3 separate regions of the Homo sapiens genome follow, and regions 1 and 2 are each linked to region 3. The links are contacts of gene promoters, found by promoter capture Hi-C in human tissues and cell types (Jung and others, 2019). All regions are on one chromosome and are shown on one strand. Each heading gives the region's core, a stretch centred on a gene start or on the middle of the fragment in contact. The rest is flanking DNA. Distances are from core to core; before and after follow the strand shown.

Region 1 (2,974 bases), core at 312-2,811, 160 kb before region 3:
TAAAAATACAAAAATTAGCCAGGCGTGGTGGCAGGCGCTGTAGTCTCAGCTACTCAGGAGGTTGAGACGGGGGAATTGCTTGAACCCAGGAAGTAGAGGTTGCAGTGAGCCGAGATCACACCACTGCACTCCAGCCTGGGTGAGAGTGAGATTCCGTCTCAAAAAAAAAAAAAAAAAAAAAAATTCCTGGGTTGTAGTGTTGGCAAGAAGTTCATTCACCTTTTTAAAAGATTTAGATACATGTCAAAGGCACAAAAGTTATTTATATTACCACGTTTATCAAGGAAATACTCTTTAAAAAGGAGAGGAGAAAAGGTTAATTTACCTTGTGGCAAATAAGACAAATTTAATCTTTTTTTTTTTAGAAAACCCGTACAGTGAGGGCTGGACACAGTGGCTCACATCATCTGTAATCCCAGCAATTTGGGAGGCCAAGGCAGGCAGATTGCTTCAGGCCAGGAGTTCGAGACCAGCCCAGGCAACATGGCGAAACCCCATCTGTACTACAAATACAAAAATTAGCTGGGCATGGTAGTGTGTGCCTATTGTCCCAGCTACTCTGGAGGCTGAGGCATGAGAACCGCTCGAACATGGGAGGCAGAGTTTGCAGTGAGCCAAGATTGAGCCACTACAATCCAGTCTGGGTGACAAGAGTGAAACTGTGTCTCAAAAAACAAAAAACAAAAAAACAAAAACAAAGAGCCTCTTTTCCATCTCCCTGCCACAGAGTAATTTCATTTGCTTTTTTCCTCAGGGTTTACTGGGTTTCTGGGTTCCAGAAGGGGAAATTCTCTTCAAGGTACAGAAACCACAACTCTGCAGAGAACCGCAGAGATGGCAGCATGACCAGACCCCGGTCAGGTGTGGGGAGGCTGCTGGGCTGAGACTTGGGCTGAACTTCCTCTGCAGGTCGACTTATTCCCATCAGCACCAAAGCCGCTGGAGGAGGTCATCCAACAGCAAAGGAAGCAGGGAGCGCAGCTTGGAGGCTGTTTCAGATAGTCTCACTGAGCCAAGGACTCAAGGCCTGGCCACAGCCCTCCCAAGTGAGGCCCAGATCATATTTCACTATGCTCAGAAAACCTTGTCTACGGCCGGGCTCGGTGGCTCACGCCTGTAATCCCAGAACTTTGGGAGGCCAAGGCGGGCAGGATCACAAGGTCAGGAGATGGAGACCAGCCTGGCTAACACGGCGAAACCCCGTCTCTACTAAAAATACAAAAAAATTAGCCGGGTGTGGTGGCAGGCACCTGTAGTCCCAGCTACTCGGGAGGCTGAGGCAGGAGAATAGCGTGAACCTGGGAGGCGAAGCTTGCAGTGAGCCGAGATCACGCCACTGCACTCCAGCCTGGGTGGCAGAGCAAGACTCTGTCTCCAAAAAAAAAAGAAAGAAAGAAAGAAAGAAAACCTTGTCTGCTCATTTTAGTCCATAGTGACTTTGCTTTCTTAGGATCTCTCTTACACTGTTCAACCCAGAGAGTTCCAAATCTGAATGGATTCCAATGATGGGGTTAAATCAGGCCCCACCTCAGTTTCTGAATTACAATCAATAGGGCCAGGTCCCAGCATCTATATCTTAATGTTCCTCCATGTGATCCTCGTGCTGAAAGGCTGGTATTTGCAAATCCCTTCTTGTGGGGAGTGAAGAGTTTTTTTAGAGACAGGCCTCACTCTGAGGCCCAGCCTCGAATGCAGTGGTGGGATCACAGCTCACTGCAGCCTCCAACTCCTGGCTGCAAGAAATCCTCCCACCTTGGCAACCAAAGTGTTGGGATTGTAGGAGTGACCGCTGTGTCTGGCCAGGAAAGCCCTTCTGTGTCACTTGAATGATATTTCTGCCGCATACCTGCAGCCATTGCTGTATTCAACTGCATCACTGCGGGAAAAGAGAAGGCGAGAGGTGGCTGTTTTGCTTTTTTCTGAACATATCAGACCAAACCTGGGCTGTTTAGCCTTTTTTTTTTTTTTTTGAGATAGTGTCTTGCTCTGTCGCCCAGGCTGGAGTGCAGTGGCGCAATCTCGGCTCACTGCAACCTCTGCCTTCCAGGTTTAAGCGATTCTCCTGCCTCAGCCTCCCAAGTAGCTGGGATTACAGATGTGCACTCCCACGCCCAGCTCATTTTTTCTGTATTTTTAGTAGAGACGGATTTCAACACGTTGGCCAGGCTGGTCTCGAACTTCTGACCTCTGGTGATCTGTCTGCTTTGGCTTCTTAAAGTGGTAGGATTACAGGCATGAGCCACCGCACCTGCTTCGCTACGTTTTTTGACAACGTATCAACATCATTTAAGATGGGCACGGCCTCAGTGTAGTGTGTCTAGACAAGGTGGCCAGAAGAGAGGGGAATATGCAAACCAGGCTTGAAGACGGGTTAAATCAGAGCTTTTCATTCCACAAAAGAGCAATTTTAATGGGGTCAGGACATTGATCTTCTAATATTTGAAAGCCTGTTAACTAGGAGAGAGAGAGCAAACTCTTTTGTTGTAGGAGGACCTACCCAGCTCTGACGGTTTAAAGCGTCATGAATGCAAATTTGAACTCCAGAAAAGCAGAGTTTCCTAACAATGGGACTTCCACAGCAATGGGATCTGCTTCTTCACTCAGTCTGTGTCTTTCCCATGAGTGAGAGACTCCTAGGAGAGCCACAGCACATTACGAAGCCATGTGGGAACTCACTCACAAGTTCTTTATTTTTTTGAGATGGAGTTTTGCTCTTGTTGCCCAGGCTGGAGTGCAATGGTGTGATCTTGGCTTGCTGCAACCTCTGCACCCCAAGTTCAAGTGATTCTTCAGCACCCCCTCACCCAAGTAGCTAGGATTACAGGCACCCGCCACCATGCCTGGCTAATTTTTTGTATTTTTTGTAGAGATGGGGTTTCACCATGTTGGCCAGGCTGGTCTCTAACTCCTGACCTCAAGTGATCCACCCCCTTTGGCCTCCCAAAGTGCTGGGATTATAGGCATGAGCCACTGA
Region 2 (2,702 bases), core at 55-2,554, 170 kb before region 3:
CAGTGTGGTCAACATGGTGAAACCCTGTGTCTACTAAAAATATAAAAATTAGCCAGGCGTGGTGGCATGTGCCTGTAATCCCAGCTACTTGGGAGGCTGAGGAAGGAGAATCGCTTGAACCTGTGAGGTGGTGGTTGCAGTGAGCTGAGATCATACCACTGCACACCAGCTTGGGTGACAGAACAAGATTCTGTCTCCAAAACAAACAAACAAACAAACAAACAAACCCAAAACAATTCTGTAATGGCAAGGGAGTAAATAAGTTACCAATAATGCTGGAGAAAGAGGAAGTGAATGGGTCTCCAGTACCGGTTAGAATGAAAAAATCCCTACCAATGTAAATCAAATGTAAAATCAACAAAAGAGTTCATGTATGTGTGCGGGAAGGAAAGTGATATTTGGGGGTTGGGAGGTGTTACTGAGGGTACTGAATACATATAAACAACTCTTTAGTCTCTCCCAAAGGTCTGGGATGAGCATTTTTTAACCTTTGATACGCTACTAACTTACCTGGACTATGTTGACATGGAAATTCACCTCCCATTATCCACGGCTCCTCTCCCTGCTCCAACTTAATGATGACGTTTGGCTTGGTGGTATCATATCCTGTTAATGGGAAAAGAAGGAGGACTTGGGGAAGCTGCTTGGCTTCAGAATCTCTGAAGTACAAGATGTTGCCACCTCATAAGCTGCATAACAGAAGTGCTCCATTTTTTACCTTATCAAAGTTAGAACCTTTCAATGAATAATAATATAAACACTCCAGCTAGTGCCCACAAGGAATTAAATGGTGTCATCACTTATTTCTTCAAACTCAAGGATAAAACCCCATTCAACTGAGAGCATTCAGAAAGCAAGCTATTCTCACCCACAGAAACTAGATGGCTATAGTTCTCCAACATCACATCCCTGTAAGTTATCTTCTCATCAGGGTCCAGCTGCTGCCACTCCTCCTGGGTGAAATCCACAGCCACATCTTTGAATGACACTGGCCCCTGTAATGGCAACATGATCAGAATTGGGAGATACGGAAAAGGGATAGGGGGATAACGTTTTACAAAGCCCACCGGTAAAGTTAACCATAAACATTGTATACCTTATTTTATGTTACAGATTATGGAAGGGAAATCATATTGGAAACACATATCCTTTGGGGTTATAATACATAATATATAAAATATATAATATATATAAATATATATAATATATATAAAAAATATATATATATTGCCCCACAAAAATAAAAACCCAAAACACAACTGAGCTCCTATTTTGCAAGTGAACTAGCTGAGCTTTGGGGACATGAGATGAGTGAAACACCATGCCTGCTCCCAAAGTGAACAACCTAAAAAGGAGATAAACATGTAAACAAACACAAGCATTTTACTCCTTGTCACTTCTTTTAGTCTTCCTTGCTGCCAGGCCCTCCCCTTGCCCTGGACCTCTTCATGTTGGAGTGCCCACCACTCAGCTCCTGGTCCTCTTCCTCCTAACTCACTGCTCTGGGGCTCTCACCTAGTTTCAGCTCCTTGTTCTTTTGGCTCTTTTATTCTCATAGCCAGTGGCCTCTGGCTATCTGCATGGCTGAGTTTTATCTCAAACATCTCAATCTTGGAGCAATAAATATTCGTTAAATGAATGAATGCCCAAAGCTGTTATTAGAGTAATGCAGACAAGGTGCAGAATGATTTAACAAAAGAGGATCAAATTATTTTAATTTTATGCCATCAGATTAGGCTTCACAGACTCAGTTAACTTGAAGTCTTTAAAGATGAATTGTGCATTCTATGGGATGAAGGGGAAGAAGAATATGATGAGGTGTACAAAGTACCAATGGCAAACGGGAAGCAGCTTCAATTTTTAAGTGGTTGGGGCTGGGCATGGTGGCTCATGCCTATAATCCTAGCACTTTGGGAGGCCAAGATGGGAAGATCGTTTGAGCTCAGGAGTTCGAGACCAGCTTGGGCAACATAGTAAGACCTCATCTCTGCTAAAAATAAATTAAAAAAAAAAAATTGGCTGGGCATCATGGCACACGCCTGTAGTTCTAGCTACTTGGGAGGCTAAGGCAGGAGGATCACTTGAGCCTGGGAGGTCAAGGCTGCAGTGAGCTGTGAATGCAACACTGCACTCCAGCCTAGGCAACAGAGTGAGACCTTGTCTCAAAAAAAAAAAAAAAAAAAAAGAAAAATGCAAAACTCCTGGGCTCCAGCAATCCACCTGCCTTGGCCTCCCAAAGTGTTGGGATTACAGGCTTGAGCCAGCACGCCCTGCCCAAACTTGTAGTTTAGAAAAAGGAAGTGCCCAGTAAGCAGGCTGCATTATCCTATTATTTATAAAGAACATATCAACAAGGGGTTCAAATCCAGTGATACAGCTAGGACCATGTAGATCCCAAGAGATAGCAGAGGCAGGGCCGCTAGGCTGTGGGCTGAGAAACTAAAGCAGAACATCCAAGCTTATCCACAGTCAGGCCACAGGAGCTGATAAAATCACCGAGAGAGAGTAATAACCTTCTGGGTTAAGTTAGTCCAGAAGGCAAGGAGGTAGTAGGGGTTAGAAGACTGATCAACCAATAAATAACATAAAATTACATGCCAATACCACTTACATCAATACAAAAACCCAAAATGAAACATAATCAAACAAAATCCAGTACCAGATTAAAAACATAATATACAATAGCCAAATGGGACTTATTC
Region 3 (2,784 bases), core at 95-2,594:
AAATTAGGTGGGCGTGGTGGTAGGTGCCTGTTAACCTTAGCTACTCGGGAGGCTGAGGCAGGAGAATCGCTTGAACCTGGGAGGTGGTGGTTGCAGTGAGCTGAGATCACACCACTGCACTCCAGCTAGGGCAATAGAATAAGACTCTGTCTCCAAAAAAAAAAAAAAAAAAAAAAAAAAAAAAAGCCAATCTTACTGCATTAAGTTTTTGAGACAAAAGCTTTTTTTGTCCGTATTGTGAGTTGATCAATAAGGAGACAGGAGCCTGGCTCAAATCTGTCTCTCTGTGTTGACTTTGAGGCACTATTTTTTATTAGAAAAGGTTTAGGAGGTGGACTTTAGGATTAGCAGGTGATAGGTGGAGGAAAGGGGAGGCCTGGAATGTCTCAGACATCTCTGTCTCACAAGAATTGATGTGAGCATTAAGTGAGGTGACCTAGGTAAAGTTGCCTAGGGCCTGGCACACAGGTGGTCAATAAATGTCTGTTCCCACACTCATCAATGTCTGCTCCGACCTCCATCGCGAATATGGGGTCATGACTACGGAAATCATACCACGATAGCTGTCCACAAAAAGGTTCACTCCCGAGGCCCACATTCTGCATATTGATATTCCGAACCACCTGAATCTCCCAGGTCTAGCCCACATTCCTCAAAGGGAAAACCCCAGCCAAAGTGCCGAGGTCACGAGCTGCTTTTTAAACAAGTCCCCAGGGAGAGCAGTTGGGGCCAGAGCCCCAGAGCTGACCTGGTCATTTTTTTGCATAATTGTAAGCAGGAATGCCATGACCTGATTTGTCTTTTAAAACTCTGGGTGGGAGACAGATGGTAGGGGAGAGGAAATTCCTCCCTTGTTCCTTTTCGATGTCTTAGAAGATGTTTATTAATTGGGGGCACAGCTCTACCCTCCCCTACACCCACTCACTGGGCTACTAGAAGGTGCTGTCTCGAAATAGCCCACCCAACCGCAGGAGCCCAGAGCCCACAAGCAGCTCAGGGACTTAGAACTGGTCCCACCCTTCCTCCGGGGACCCCCCCTCCTTAAGCTGCAGTCTGTGGGTGGGCTGCAAGTCCCGCCTCTCCACAACCAGCCCCACCCCTTTCTTCAAAACCCCGCCTCTCCGGTGAGGCCCCGCCCCCTCGAGGCTGCATCCCCGTCCATTGGGCGGCCGGCAGGAGGCGCCAGAGCACAGCCCGCCTTTTCTAGCAGGTTGGCCCCGCCCCTCTCCTGGAGACCCCGCCTCCTCGAGGCTTTCTTTCTGCCTATTGGGCGCCGAGGCCCAGCTCCAGCCCACCTGTTCTCCCCCGCCCCACCCTTTGTGGCCCCGTCCCCTTGAGGCCCCGCCCCGCCCGTTGCGCCGCCGGCAGGAGGCGCCGCGGCACGCGCGGGTCTGGGCGCCGGCCCCAGCCAACGGCGGGTGGGAGCAGCGCGGGAACGTGGCGGCGCGGCGGGTTGTGCCGGAGGTGAGTGTGGGGTGCGCGAGGAGTGACTGCGGAACCGGGGGTGGCTCGTAAGGGGCGCTGCTCGGCCGCTGCCGGGGACCTGGGGCGCGGAGGCCGCGGGGCGCGCTCGGGGACACTCCCGGCCGCTGGTCGGGGCGCGGAGGGCAGGTTTGCCCAGTTGCCATGGGAACCGACTGGCTGTCGGGCCCCGGCCTGGACCGGGGGGCGGTACCCGGAGGCCGGCTAGCGCGGGCAAGGGCGGCCCAGCCTGCGGGGATCCGGGGGTCCGCGCTGCCGACCCCCGAGAGCTCCTGAGCCTGGCTGTCCGCGTGGGCCCCGGACCCCCAACTCCAGGGGACTCTCGGCCCTCAGTTTTCCCGGCTGTGCCCTGGAGGGGGAGCTTCGTCCGGGGCGCGCAGCGGGGGAGCGGGGCGCAGCGGGGGAGCGGGGCGCAGGGTTCCGCGCGCTCTCCCACCTGGGCCGGCGAGACGTCCCCTGCACATACCCCGTCCCGGTTGCAGCCCGATCCCCACTCGTGCGCCAGCTCAAAGCATTGTTTCCCGGCTATTTATGTACCATTTCCAGCCCCTCGACAAATACTGCATCCAAGATAACAGATGCTGAGCCGAGCTCCTGGGGCCTCGCAGGAGGAGCCTGTTGGTGGGGTTGGCAGGGCCCTGGCGGGGCTGCGGACCATCCTGCCCTGCCCTGTCGCCTGTCAAGTGTTTGGCTAATCTGAATTGCACAGAAGAATCTGATTGCTCGTGTCCCGCGGTTAATATAGGCCACCTCTTGTGCATTCCAGACAGGAACCAGTCTTGAAAGTCCCTTTTGCTGGGGGGCAAGTCGGTCTCCTCTCCAGCAGCTAGCAGGTCAGAATTAAATCTGATTGAATTATGTTTGCATTTGAAAGCGTGGCTCGGGCTGGGGCTGTAAAGATAGGATTCATGGAAGGAGGGGAGAGAGCTGAGTGTGTAAAGTCTGCGCTTCGTTTTCCCTCCTGCTGGAAATGATAATGGGTTCCACATTGTCCTGTTGGAGCAGAGAGGTCGCTCCACCCATGTCGTCAGCGCAGCACTGACCTCACTCCCTGTACTCGCCGCTGGGACTTGAGCTTGTTTTTCATCAGAAACTGGACCCTTCCTTGAGAACAAGAGAAAACATTCTCTAAGAGCAGCACCAGCCAGCGCCCCACACCCTCGCTGTCCGAGCCCTGCGCTTTCCCCAAGTATTTGTGTCACAGAGGAGCGAATGGGGCAGAAGAGGCCGGTCGCACTTCCAGAAAAACAGATCTTGTTACCCAGGGCGTGCTCCGCCCGGTCGGATTTTCCTGCACTCCCC

What was found. The method cuts DNA at HindIII sites, captures the fragments that hold promoters and counts their contacts. A contact is called where the count stands out against the background at its distance.
Region 1: a contact is called between a fragment that was not itself captured here and the fragment with the promoter of RADIL in region 3, in 1 of the 25 tissues and cell types used here (hippocampus).
Region 2: a contact is called between a fragment that was not itself captured here and the fragment with the promoter of RADIL in region 3, in 1 of the 25 tissues and cell types used here (hippocampus).

The regions. Positions count from the first base shown.
Region 1 is chr7:5,039,147-5,042,120 of GRCh38, reverse strand. It overlaps the pseudogene SPDYE19P. Among named protein-coding and RNA genes, the nearest start is that of RBAK, 5.2 kb to the left of the region's middle. The HindIII fragment of the contact is 4,028 bases long and covers 1-2,974 here.
Region 2 is chr7:5,055,588-5,058,289 of GRCh38, reverse strand. RBAK-RBAKDN (RBAK-RBAKDN readthrough) reads right to left here. Exons shown (of 6, transcript NM_001204513.3): 3 at 869-995; 4 at 511-606. RBAK (RB associated KRAB zinc finger) reads right to left here. Exons shown (of 5, transcript NM_021163.4): 3 at 869-995; 4 at 511-606. Among named protein-coding and RNA genes, the nearest start is that of RBAK-RBAKDN, 11 kb to the right of the region's middle. The HindIII fragment of the contact is 6,513 bases long and covers 1-2,702 here.
Region 3 is chr7:4,882,276-4,885,059 of GRCh38, reverse strand. RADIL (Rap associating with DIL domain) reads left to right here and starts at 1,344. Exons shown (of 15, transcript NM_018059.5): 1 at 1,344-1,464. RefSeq lists a silencer at 1,313-1,532 and enhancers at 1,242-1,929, 1,930-2,618, 2,348-2,642. The HindIII fragment of the contact is 17,002 bases long and covers 1-2,784 here.